3 separate regions of the Homo sapiens genome follow, and regions 2 and 3 are each linked to region 1. The links are contacts of gene promoters, found by promoter capture Hi-C in human tissues and cell types (Jung and others, 2019). All regions are on one chromosome and are shown on one strand. The core of a region is centred on a gene start or on the middle of the fragment in contact, and the rest is flanking DNA. Distances in the headings are between cores, read along the strand shown. Region 1 holds the start of C2orf68 (chromosome 2 open reading frame 68). Region 2 has its middle 33 kb from the start of ST3GAL5-AS1. Region 3 holds the start of ST3GAL5 (ST3 beta-galactoside alpha-2,3-sialyltransferase 5).

Region 1 (4,377 bases), core at 955-3,454:
GTAGAGATGGGGTTTTACCATGTTGGCCAGGCTGGTCTCAAACTCCTGACCTCAGGTGATCCACCCACCTTGGCCTCCCAAAGTGCTGGGATTACAGGCGTGAGCCACTGCACCCAGCTGCCCCAATCTTCTTATGGGTCCAGTGTAAGTGGTTTTTTTTTTTTTTTTTTTGAGACGGAGTCTTGCTCTGTTGCCCAGGCTGGAGTGCAGTGGCTAAATCTCGGCTCACCGCAACCTCTGCCTCCCAGGTTCAAGCAATTCTCCTTCCTCAGCCTCCCAAGTAGCTGGGATTACAGCCGCCTGCCATCATGCCTGGCTAATTTTTGTATTTTTAGTAGAGATGGGGTTTCACCATGTTGTCCAGGTTAATTTCGAACTCCTGGCCTCAAGGGATCCGCCCACCTCGGCCTCCCAAACTGCTAGGATCACAGGCATGAATCACCGCGCCCGGACCAGTGTAAGCATTTGGTGTGCTGCCAATCAAGGACTTATTTACCTTTGCATCCCTGCTCTGAGGCCAGCACAATCCTGTCACACAGTAGGTACACAATGCACATTTGTCTAGCAAAAAGTACTGGAAAGCAGAAGGGTGGATAGAGCTCTGCCTGGGTTCAAATCCAGGCTCTGCCATTTACTAGCTGAGATCTTGGGCAAGTTGTTTAACCTCTCTGTGCCTGTTTCCTGACTGTGAAACAGACAGAAGCTTTCTTATGAGGTTGTATAAAGACTCAATGAATTAATATACGTAAGATCTAAAAGCACTTTCACTAATGCCTAACAAAGGTAGTGGCACACACCTATAATCCCAGCACTTTGGGAGGCCGATGCGGGCAGATCACCTGAGCTCAGGAGTTCGAGATCAGCCTGGACAACGTGGAGAAACCCCTTCTCTCTCTCTCTTTTTTTTTTTTTTTTGAGACCGAGTCTTGCTGTGTTGCCCAGGCTGGAGTGCAGTGGCGCGATCTCGGCTCACTGCAAGCTCCGCCTCCCGGGTTCACGCCATTCTCCTGCCTCAGCCTCCCGAGTAGCTGGGACTACAGGCGCCCACCACCACGCCCGGCTAATTTTTTGTATTTTTAGTAGAGACGGGGGTTTCACCATGTTAGCCAGGATGGTCTCGATCTCCTGACCTCGTGATCCGCCCGCCTCGGCCTCCCAAAGTGCTGGGATTACAGGCGAGAGCCACCGCGCCCAGCCGGGGAAACCCCTTCTCTACAAGAAATACCAAAATTAACCGGTGTGGTGGCACACGCCTGTGGTCCCAGGTACTCGGGAGGCTAAGGCTGCAGTAAGCCCAGATCGCACCATTGCACTCCAGCCTGGGCGACAGAGACCTAGTCTCAAAAATAAAATAAAAACATTTTAAAAAAAGTAATAATGCTTAACAAAAATTGACCGTCATATATTAACCAGTGTGATCTCTAGGTAGCAGAGAAGCTGGGGAAAGGCCATTTACTGGGTTCATTCCGCAATTATGTGCTGGTCGCTCATCGCTGTGCCAGACTTTCTCTTTGCTAGGTAGCGGAGCACCTTACTAAAATACAGCACGGTGGGGCAAACCGGCAGATAAACTTCTTGCTGGCTCCCCGATACTCTGACAGCGATGCTTAACTGGGGGCTTATGAGTCGTCCCAGTTCTTGGTGAGAATCATTCAGCGGAGATTTGGGAGCGCTGAGGTGGAGGTTCCGGAAAGAGACGAGATGAGCTGAACCTTAGGAGTAAGAAGTGGTTTTTCCCTATAGAGAAGGGGAGTGCGTTGCAGGAAGAGCGCGCGGGCTGGAGGCAGGCGGGGCGGGCGGCCTCACCTCGGTGTCGCGGCAGGTACACCTGCAGGTCTGGCTTGCGGGGCCGCGTCGGCGCGGGCGTGTGCCGCCTCCTCACCTTCTCCTTGGCCGCCTGCTTCACCTTCTTGTCATAGTCGTCCCTGCGGGGAGCCGAGCGGGAGTCAGGGACTGTCGGGCCGGGCCAGGCCAGGCCAGGAGTGGTGGCGGCGGCGGCGCAGGGCGGGGCGGTACCGAGCGATCTGGTTCCGTCGGATATGGTGCACGAAGCCGTGGTTCATGTCCAGCCGCCCCCCAGGCTTGCAGCAGTGCCCCGGCCGGGGATGCGGCCCCGCCTCCATCAGGAGCCGGGGACGCAGAGTCGCCGCCGCCTCGACGGCCCCAACAACAGCCACCCGCCCACAGAGCTCCGCGCCGCCCCTTGCTCAGCTTCCGGCCCCGCATCCTGACTTCCGGTCTGGGAGGCCCCGGCCTGGCCAAGCGATGCAGCGCACGGAGTTTTCGGGTCTGGTCGGGTCGGGTGGAGTAGGGTATGCTTGACTTCCACCCCCCGGACGGAGGGCTTTTGTTTTTGTTTTTTTTTGTTTGTTTTTTCGTAACATATCAATAGGAAACAAGGACTTCGGCTTACAGCTGATACCAGAACCTTCAGAAAAATGCAAATCATCTATAACACAACTCGATGCTTACGGCGGTGCCTTCCCATCTTTTTTCTGGTAATAGGATGCTGTGCAATCCATCGCCATCTGCGTGACTTTGGCTGACTGTGTAACGCTGCCACTTCTCAGTTTCCTCATTAGTAAATGGGAACACCTAGAGCACCTACCTCAAATGGATTGTGAGGCCTTGAAGTGCTCAGGCAGGGCAACAGCGGCGCCCAGGCCGCAGGCGCCGCGAAGGCTCTCCTGGCCCGGCTTGCCTCCTGCTCACGGCGCCGATGGCTTAACTGTCCCCGCGGGAGGACCCAGGGTTTTTGAGGGACCTACGGGTGTATTATTTTCTTTTTTATTTATTTTTCCTTTTTTTTTTCTTTTTGAGAAGGAGTCTCACTCTGTCGCTCAGGCTGGAGTGCATTGGCGTGATTTCGGCTCACTGCAACCTCCGCCTCCCGGGTTCAAGCGATTCTCCTGCCTCAGCCTCCCGAGTAGCTGGGACTACATGCGCGTGCCACCACGCCCGGCTAAGTTTTGTATTTTTGGTAGAGATAAGGTTTCACCACGTTGGCCAGGCTGGTCTCGAACTCCTGACCTCAGGTGATCCGCCTGCCTCGGCCTCCCAAAGTGTTGGGATTGCAGGCATGAGCCACCGTGCCCGGCCCCTTTTTTTTTTTTTTCTATTTTTTCTGACCACTGGGTTCACGTCACAGCGTGTAAAATTCTCAAGTCCTTTTACAAAAGTCAAAATCAGGAATTCATGATTAGGACAGGGACAAACGGCTGGATGCAGTGGCTCATGTCTGTAATTCCAAAACTTTGGGATGCCGAAGTGGGAGTATCGCTGGAGGGAGGAATTTGAGACCAGCCTGGGCAACACAGCGAGACATCGTCTCTACAAGAAAAAAATACATTAAAAAAGAAAGAAAGAGCCGGGCGTGGTGGCTCACGCCTGTAATCCCAGCACTTTGGGAGGCCCAGGCGGGCAGATCAAGAGGTCAGGAGTTCGAGACTAGCCTGGCCAAAATGGTGAAACCCCGTCTCTACTAAAAAAAAATACAAAAAATTAGCTGGGCTTGATGGCCGGTGCTTGTAATCCCAGCTACTTGGGAGGCTGAGGCAGGAGAATCGCTTGAACCCGGGAGGCGGAGGTTGCAGTCAGCCGAGATCGAGCCACTGCAGTCCAACCTCCAAATCAAAAAACAAAAAACAAAAACAAAAAACAGGGACCAATGGTGGTCCAGCCACACGATGGAATATTACTGAGCAATCCAAAGGAAGATCTGTAGCTCAACAACATGGATGGATCATAAAATAAATATGCCCAGTGAAAGAGGCCAGGGACTCTGTATGATTCCATTTATATGAGACTCTAGGAAGTGCAAACTAATCTATAGTGACCGAGAGATCAGTTGATTTTTGTGGGGGTTCTCTGGGAGGAAGAGGATATCTTTGGGGCTGGGTAGATTCTTTAAATTTTTTTTTATTTTTTTATTTTTTTGAGGCAGGATCTCACTGTCGCATAGGTTGGATTGTAGTGGTGCAATCACTGCTCACTGCAGCCTCCACCTCTCAGGCCCAAACGATCCTCCTGCCTCAGCCTCCTGAATAGCATGCCACCATGCCCAGCTAATTTTAAAATTTTTTTGTGGAGATGGGGGGGGTCTCTCTATGTTGCCAAGGCTAGTCTTGAACTCCTGACCTCAAGTGATCCTCCTGCCTCAGGCCTCCCAAAGTGCTGGGATTATAAGTGTGAGCCACCGTACTGGGCCCAGATCCCGTCTCTTGATTGTGGTGATGGCTTCATGGGTGTATATGTTACAGGAAAGGGATCCCTATTCAGACCCCAGCAGAGGGTTCTTGGATCTTGTGCAAGAAAGAATTCAGGGTGAGTCCACAGTGCAAAGTAAAAGCAAGTTTATTAAGAAAGTAAAGTAGCCAG
Region 2 (4,377 bases), core at 680-3,179, 310 kb after region 1:
ATTCTTCAGACTTAGTAAGAGCTGGCTTGAGAACTGTGTCAGGAGTAAGTTCGGCAGGGGAATGGTAGAGATGAAGAGGCTTAAAGAACAGTTTGTTTCTCTCTCATAGAATAATCCAGGTAGCTCCAGGTAGCTCACAGCTCCATCTTCCCTAGGGCACGAGCAACTTTCTCAGGATACAAAATGTCAGCTAGAGCTCCAGCTGTTATATCCTTGTTCCAGACAGCAGGATGAAGACAGAGATGAAGATTGCATGCCATTGGCTTTTAAGGAAAGGTCTCAGAAGTTGCCACAAACACTTCTACTAACTTTTTTTTTTTTTGAGATGGGGTCTTACCCTGTCACCTAGGCTGGAGTGCAGTGGCACGATCTTGGCTCACTGTAACCTTCGCCTCCTGGGGTCAAGCAATTCTCCTGCCTCAACCTCCCGAGTGTCTGGGATTATAGGCGCCCGCCACTACACCTGGCTAACTTTTTTTGTATTTTTAGTACAGATGGGGTTTCACCACGTTGGCCAGGCTGGTTTCAAACTCCTGACCTCAAATGATCCGCCTGCCTAAGCTTCCCAAAGTGTTAGGATTACAGGCGTGAGCCACCATGCCCAACCACTTCTACTAACATCTAATTGACCAGAACTCACTAGTATGATCATATCTAGCTGTAAGAAAGGCTGGGAAATTTAGCCTTATTCCAAAGAGCCAGTTAAAAATTGGGGTTTGCATTATTATGAAAGAAAAGACCAGGTATTTGGTAGATGTATCAGTCAGCAAATGCTATAATAATTCTGCATAACAAACCATGAGCATACAACAATGAGCTTTTGTTTTCCTTGCCCTCAGGGCTGTGGGTTGGCTGGGAGGCTCTGCATCAGGCTACAGGGCTGCCGGGCTTGGTGGAGGTATACTGCACTCACACTAATGGAGGGCACTGCAAAATCACATAACAAAGGGTATGAGTGTAAAATTCTAACACCAGAAGCGTCTGCAGAATGATAAACAATGATTCATTTATACAGAGGACAACCAAGATTGCCAGGAAATTCAATGTCTGCAGTCTTGGTCCCCGGAGACCTCCCAGGAACCTGCTGCTGCTGCTGTCCTACAATTCAGCTCCCAGTGTAGCTTCCAGTTCTGATGATCCCACTTCCCCGGTTACAGATTAAGCTAGTCCAGCCTCTCACATGAGCTTTTTAGGCCACAGTCCCTAGTTTCAGCCTAACCAGACACCTGCAGCCTTTTCTCTAAGGTTTTGCCAAGACAAACAGAGTAGTTCAGGATGCCTCTAAGGGAGAAGGAAAGTGGGAAAAATCATTTGGGAAAAATTCAGAGTGCAGAAGCAGCCTGCCTGAAAAGTTGCTGGAACAGACAAAAATAAAACAACCTGGGGAAAATAAAACAAAACAAAACTCAGGCTGGACCTGGACAGATAAACAAACAGGATCCCGCACAGGAGTTCTTTATTCTTTGTCTAATTAGCAAGCTCCCAGGAAAAAATTTTCTCCCTTTTTCAGTCAGATACATGGTGAGAACTTGCACACGGAGGAGGGGGGATTACCTAAAACAAACTCACAGTATACAAACAAGAGAAGCTGTGCTTTGTGCTTACCTAAAAACATACCCACAGCTGCATGAGATAAGGGGCGTCGCACAGACAGCCTTACTGATAAGAGAAGTTACTCAAACTGCTACAGAGATGAGAGGGGTTTCTCAGCTGTAACCTGGCAATCCACTCTGACTCCTCTCTCTGCTGCAGAGAGCTTTATTTCTTTCACTTATTAAACTTTCCCTCCAACACCATGTTTGTGTCTGCGTTCCTAATTTTCTTGGACATAGGACAAAGGACCTGGGGTACCAGTTAAGACAAAGAGAAACTGCTACATTAAGGTGGGTTGGTGAGACTGCAACACCTCTATGTAGGGCCAGAAGCCATTTTCCTCTGCCCCACTTCCCCGGGGGCCAGCCAGAGTCAGACCCATTTTTCCCGTTCAAATTCCCCAAACACAAAAGCTTCATCATGCCATTTTCTATTACAATTGGGCTTGAAGGTACATCTACAAGAGAGTGAAAGCCCAGGCAACTTGTCCCTTGAGTTACAAAGAATTCCGTTTATCTTTCCTGGGGTAAGACTAAGTCTACAGCAGTAAAAATTCAGCACTCAGATTGGTTTTCAAAGGCTGACCTTTCCATTATTTACATTCTTAATGAATCATCCTGCTTAATTGTAATCAGTGGAGCTTAAGGCAAATTTCCAAAAGGTTTGGTCAAACTTTTGGTGTAAATAATCTCAGTGTATCTATTTCAACTTTACTTAGTCCGCTTCCATTAGTAACATGAAGAAGCATTTTCTTGGGTACAACCCAAAGTTAGCACCAATTATGAAATCTATTGGTTAGTTCAGCAAATTAAACAGTTACTTTTGTTGTTGTTTTTTGAGACAGGGTTTTGTTCTGTAGCCCAGGCTAGAGAGCAGTGGTGCCATCTCAGCTCACTGCAACCTCTGCCTCCTGAGCTCAAGTGATCTTCCCACCTCAGCCTTCCTAGTAGCAGGGACCATAGGCACCTGCCACCATGCCCCGCTAATTTTTTTTTTTATTTATTTTTTGTAGAGATGGGGTTTCTCCATGTTGCCCAGGCTGGTCTCAAACTCCTGGCCTCAAGTGATTCACCCGCTTCAGCCTCCTAAAGTGTTGGGATTACAAGCATAAGCCACTGCACCCAGCCAAAATGGTTACTTTCAGTAACAGCTGTGGCCACCCCCTCCTCATGGAGGTTTTTTTGTTTGTTTGTTTGAGACGGAGTCTCACTCTGTCCCCAGGCTGGAGTGCAGTGGCACAATCCCAGCTCACTGAAACCTCTGCCTTCTGGGTTCAAGTGATTCTCCTGCCTCAGCCTCCCGAGTAGCTGGGACTACGGGTGCCTGCCACCACTCCCGGCTAATTTTTTGTATTTTTAGTAGAGATGGGATTTCACCATGTTGGCCAGGATGGTCTCGATCTCTTGACCTCGTGATCCGCCTGCCTTGGCCTCCCAAAGTGCTGGGATTACAGGCGAGAGCCACCACTCCCGGCTTTTTTTTTTTTTAAATACAGTTAAACATACATGTATCTTGTGACCCAGAAATTCCACCTCTAGGTATTTTTACCTTAGACAAATGAAACCTATGTCCATCCACCCTACACAAAAACTGGTACCTAAATGTTCACAGCAACTTTATTCTTAGTAGCCAGAAACTGGAAAAATCCAAATGTAACATCCAACAACAGATAAATGGATACACAAATTGTGGAATATGCATGCAATGGAAAAGTATTCCACAATAAAAGGAAGGGACTGCTAATATACACAACAATGTAGATGAATCTCACAGATATTATGCTGCATGAAGGAAGCCAGACATAGGAGACTGTATACTGTATGATCCCATTTATATGACATTCAACAAAAGGCAAAACCAATCTATGGTGATAGAAATCAGAACAATTGGGGTTGACTGGAAAAGGGCAAGAGGGAACTTTCTAAGTGATGAAATGCTTTCTATCTTAATTGGGGTAATGGCTACATGGTGAATGCATTTGCCAGTAATCATCAAACTCTGTAGGTTAGATCTGAGCATTTCACTGTGTATAAATTATACCTCATTTTTAAAACTTTTTTTTTTAAGTTGGGCTATTTCCTCAAATGTTCCAACAACAAACTGAGGAGATCCATGTCCCAAGTGTTAATGGGGCACTGGTGACTTTAGTGGTGGAGAGGTGGTTTGTCATATGTGGTCAGCAGCCAGCTGGCAACATTTTCATTTTGTGTTGTCAGTTAATCATTTGTGAAAGAATTTTCTGAAAATGGCCGGGTGTGGTGGCTCACACCTGTAATCCCAGCACTTTGGGAGGCCGAGGCAAGCTGATCACGAGGTCAAGAGATCGAAACCATCCAGGCCAACATGGTGAAACCCCGTCTCTACTAAAAATACAAAAATTAGCTGGGCGTGGTGGCGTGTGCCTGTAGTCCCAGCTACTCAGGAGGCTGAGGCAGGAGAATTGCTTGAACCTGGAAGGCGGAGGTTGCAGTGAGCCAAGATTGCGCCACCGCACTCCAGCCTGGGCGACACAGCAAGACTCTGTCTCAAAAAAAAAAGAAAAAAAAAAAAAAAGAAGGTTCCACAGGGTTGGAGGAGACCATGGGTCTCCTGTTAGCTGGGGAGGTGGAAAGAGCTCTGGACTGATAATCAGGAAGCCTGGGGGAGACTTTGCCCTTCCAATAACCTGATCAATAAATCAGTCTGGGGCTCTGCTAACACTCAACCACCAGAAAGAAACAGTGGTGTGACCCTGGGCAATGTATTTGTCACCTGTCCTCCATCCTGGGCCTCGGGGCCTCAGGG
Region 3 (4,377 bases), core at 644-3,143, 280 kb after region 1:
ACCAACCTCTTTTCATTCATTGCCTCCCGAGGCCAACCTGCTAGATAAATTCCCCTCATTGCTGCAAATAGTCCCACAAGGCAAGCAGGGAAGAACTAGAGGAGCAAACCAAAGAACAAAGAGTGTGTTCTTATTCTGCCACGGATATATCCTTAACGTTCATCACCAATCTATTTTGATAACATGCAACAATTTACAATTTATGCCAAAATTATAAGAACTGTCCAAATAGTCGTAAATGTGAGCTCTCAAAATTTCTGCCTGTCAGCCCTCTCTCTTCCATGAGCCCCTTCATGCCTTCCTATCTCACCTGTTTCTTTTCTCGCCTAGACGAAGAAATGCTGATCATAACCCAGAATATCCAAGGGTCATTTCATCTTACAAAAACAGCAGCATCCATATAACAGGCACATGGGTAAAAGACTCAAGACATGCTGGTTATATGCTCTCGCAGTTCGTATGAATCTCTCCTTCTCCAAGTGACAGCTGGAATTCAGGTGCTTCTAGGCTCTGTTACTAGCAATGTTAGACACTCCTCGAAGCTGTCAAGCTCTCAGGATTACACAAGTGAAACCACAACCTGTCCTGACTGTATTCAAGTCTGTGCCCCTTCATGCAGCAGAAATGGATTCCTCTTCCACAGTTTCAGCAGCTGTATCCTTCCGTGGAAAAGGATTAGCAGCCATAAGCCCGGGGGAGGGCAGCTAAACACCAGAGGGCAGGAGATGAGTCTCCTTCCTCTCTGTGACACCCAGCACGGCCCTGCCACGAGGAGCAGGCAACCACTGGTGCCAGATGAAGCGCAGCACATAAAACCATTTTCCCCTTCAAATGAACGATGCCTAATTAAGCAAAAGCCGCATGCATGACTTAAGACATGAGGATATAAAATTCGTCTTCCGAGTCAGCTAGAGATTCTGCAGGATCCTCTACCCTCGTAAACGTATTTTTTTATGATTAGAAAAACCCGGGGCCTGGAAGGGACCTCGGCCATCGGCAGGGTAAGCTTCTCAGGAGAGACCATGAGCCCGAGCCCCACAGGGGGATCAGTGTCTGCCAAGGTCACCAAGCGGGTGTGAGGCAAGGGCAGGGCTCCTCGGGGATGCTCTCGGAAAACCCTGCGTTACTTACACACGCAAGGCGTACAATGAATGCACACCCGCGTCAAGCCACGGCTTACAATTCAGAAGAAATCAAAAGGTCGCCAAAACCTGTCTTCTCCGCAAGGCTGGCTGCAGAGAGGGTGCAGGGAAGGTCACCGGCAAATTTCTACCAGCGGCCCCACATCACGCCTCCCCGATGGATGCAGAGAGAGGTTTCAGGAGCTGCTAGTAACCTTGCAGGGGGTTCCCTAAGCCCATCCCAGGAAAACGAGTTAACTCGGCTCTGCTAACTCCGAAGCTTCCAGCAATGAATTAAATCCCGAGCTGCAGCGGAAAGCGGCGGGGAAAGGGCCACTGCGGCGGGACCCGACACCCGGCGGTCCGCCCCACCCTCTACCGCGTACACACCTGCGTGGGACCCCCCGCCCGGTCCACACGGCCCGGGACCACGACCCTCCGCCCGCGCCCCAGCCGGGCTCGCCTGAGGGTGTCGTGCCCTGGGCGCTGCCCGCGGGGTTCGAGGCGGAAACGCCGCGCCCAGCCGGCCCGGGAAGAGACAAGTCGCCGCCGCAGCCCCCAGCCCGCGGGCCCCCGCGACGCCGAGGAGGGGGCTGCGCCACGTACCTCGGCCGGCAGGTGCCGCCGCTGCCTCGGTCCGCGGCTGCAGGGGACGCCGCTCCGCGCAGCCCGCCGCCTTCGTCCGCATACTAATGAGGGGGCGCCGGCCGGCCGCCAGCCCGGTACCCCGCGCCCCCACCCGCCCCCAGCGCCGCTCTCGCGCCCATTCAGCTGGGGGCCGCCGCTCCCCCGCTCAGATGCGGAGGAGGGGCGCGTGGGCGGGGTCTGACGTCACGAGGACGCGGACGGCCAATCGGAGAGCACGATGCCTCCGCGGCGGCCCCCGCCCCCGGGCGCGCGGCCAGTCAGCCCTGCGGTGCGGTGGGCATTGCCAGAGCAGGGCGCCCCCTGCAGGGACGCACCCGGGGCGGGGGCCAGGCTGGGGCGAGCCCCCCTTGGTTCTGGAGAGGAAATGACATACAGTTTGTGAAAGCATAAATATTCGTGAAAATAAGAAAATTCAGGAAGGAAACAAAGCTTAAGGCAGTGATTGATAGGTTATTTCTTGGACACAGCTGAACGTATACTGTGCGCCTGCAACTTTCCGGTGGTTTCGGACCGGACTTCAGTGAAGCCAGTGAAGTCGGTCGACTTGCAGAACTTCCTTTCAGAGGGGCGTACACAGCACCGCGGCCGTGTGCCTGTGATCTCCTTCTGAGTTTGAAAAAGAAGATCCTAGACACCGAGCCAAATATGTTTGCATAAACCGGGAGACTTGTGGCTCTATTTTGTAACAGCTTGGCGCAGGGCAGCTGGTTTGGAGATGTCTCTGTTCTTCCCTTGGTGGGGGTGCCGGAAAAAATGTGCTGCCTGGGCGATCGAGGTTGGGGCAAAAGCGTTGCAAAGGAAAAGGTGGGAGGACTCTACTTTCACATTTCCCAAAAGAGTTTTACCATAAGACTATTTCTGGATTGTTCTAACGTGAGGATATTGGGAGCATTTTGAAAATACTGGAGGAAAAGCTGTCACTGGGCGATTTAAATCCGGTAAGTTGGCCAAGGCAGAGCAGCTGCTGGGGTCAGCGACAGCTGACCCTTGCAGCTGAGTATCTTGCCCTCTTAATCTTGGAGATCAGCCCAAGGCCCATGTGTTACAGGAAAGGGGTCCCGATCTAGACCCCAAGAGAGGGTTCTTCGATCTCACGCAAGAAACAATTCAGAGTAAGTCCACAGTGCAAAGTAAAAGCAAGTTTATTAAGAAAGTAAAGTGGTGGCTGGGCACAGTGGCTCACGCGTAATCCCAGCACTTTGGGAGGCTGAGACGGACAGATCACCTGATGTCAGGAGTTCAAGACCAGCTGGCCAACATGGCAAAACCCCGTCTCTACTAGAAATACAAATATTGGCCGGGCGTGGTGGCGCAAGCCTGTTGTCTCAGCTACTCACGGGGCTGAGGCAGGAGAATCGCTTGAACCCGGGAGGCAGAGGCTACAGTGAGCCGAGATCGCCACTGCACTCCAGCAGGGCATTCCTGAAAATAAGAGGAGGGACATATCCAACTAAGGTACAATGCTTGTAATGCTTGTATATATGGGCAGATGTCTTCTGCTACAAGGGTTTGTGATAAAGGATTAATTTTCCCTAATTACTATATTTTGCAATAATCAATATTATTATTTTTAAAGCAAAATTAGGAATGCCTTTGTTCTCCAGATATCGGGATATCTGGACTCTCTCAAGTCTGGGTCTGTTTAGTAAGCATTATTAATTTGTTCTCTTAACCATAAACACCTAGAGGCTAGGAATGCCTAGCTTTCAGGAAATGCAGCCTAGCAAGTCCCAGCCTCATTTTTCTAGCCCTCACTCAAAATGGAGGCGCTCTGGTTTGAACACTTCTGACACATGTGCTTGATGCAACACTCTTTACCTCTCTTTGTCTCCCCTGTCCTTCCCCTTCTCTTCCAGATTCCCCTTGTCGGCAAAGCCAGGCGCTGATAGCGTTATGGCTGCCATGAGAGTCAGCAGTATCCCAGCTTCCAAGGATGGGTGTAAGGTGGGGGTGAGGAAGAAAAGGAACTTGAAGCTGCCTCCTGTCCCAGAATCACAAGACATCTGTTAAGCCCTTACTACCTCATTCACTCCACTCACATTAGGTTGACCCACTTGGGCAGCAAGACAAGCAGGCCTGCAAACTTCCTTTTCTTCATCAGCCACAGAGACATCCTCAGCTATTATTCTGGATTAAGGCAGAGATCTCCAAACAGCAGACTAAGATCAGCCTCTAGATCTCAAAGCCTTACTGTTATCTCTCCAAGTCAGTGGCTGATCTCAGAGAAGCTTCTGAATAGTGACTAGCAAAGAGTCACTCAGGCTACTTACAAATCCAGGACAGCAGCGTTTTTTTTTTTTTCTTTTTTAGAGACAGATTCACTCTGTCATCCAAGCTGGAGTGCAGTGGCACGATCTTGGCTCACTGCAACCTCCACCTCCTGGGCTCAAGCAATCCTCCTACCTCAGCCTCCCAAGTAGCTGGAACTACAGGTACCCAACACCATGCCAGGCTAATTTCTAATTTTTTGTAGAGACAGCAGTCTCCCTCTGTTGCCCAGGCTGGCCTCAAACTCCTAGGCTCAAGTGTTCCTCCTGCCTGGGCCTCCCAAAGTGCTGGGATCACAGATGTGAGCCACTGCATGCAGCCAAAACCAGTTATTTTTTGG

What was found. Contacts are between HindIII fragments. The study calls those that stand out against the background at their distance.
Region 2: a fragment that was not itself captured here is called in contact with the fragment with the promoter of C2orf68 in region 1 in 1 of the 25 tissues and cell types used here (adrenal gland).
Region 3: a contact is called between the fragment with the promoter of ST3GAL5 here and the fragment with the promoter of C2orf68 in region 1, in 1 of the 25 tissues and cell types used here (adrenal gland).

The regions. Positions count from the first base shown.
Region 1 is chr2:85,609,862-85,614,238 of GRCh38, forward strand. C2orf68 (chromosome 2 open reading frame 68) reads right to left here and starts at 2,205. Exons shown (of 4, transcript NM_001013649.4): 1 at 2,017-2,205; 2 at 1,807-1,925. The coding sequence starts at 2,123. It also overlaps a transcript of USP39 not described here. RefSeq lists silencers at 1,976-2,357, 1,977-2,046, 2,533-2,705 and an enhancer at 2,317-2,546. The HindIII fragment of the contact is 29,292 bases long and covers 1-4,377 here.
Region 2 is chr2:85,920,235-85,924,611 of GRCh38, forward strand. No RefSeq gene overlaps it. Among named protein-coding and RNA genes, the nearest start is that of ST3GAL5-AS1, 33 kb to the left of the region's middle. The HindIII fragment of the contact is 6,732 bases long and covers 1-4,377 here.
Region 3 is chr2:85,887,097-85,891,473 of GRCh38, forward strand. It overlaps ST3GAL5 (ST3 beta-galactoside alpha-2,3-sialyltransferase 5), which reads right to left and starts at 1,894. Exons shown (of 7, transcript NM_003896.4): 1 at 1,728-1,894. The coding sequence starts at 1,809. It overlaps ST3GAL5-AS1 (ST3GAL5 antisense RNA 1), which reads left to right and starts at 2,184. Exons shown (of 3, transcript NR_110569.1): 1 at 2,184-2,707; 2 at 4,080-4,109. RefSeq lists enhancers at 476-595, 606-735, 1,074-1,574, 1,266-1,345 and silencers at 1,516-1,635, 1,676-2,295. The HindIII fragment of the contact is 1,894 bases long and covers 1,204-3,097 here.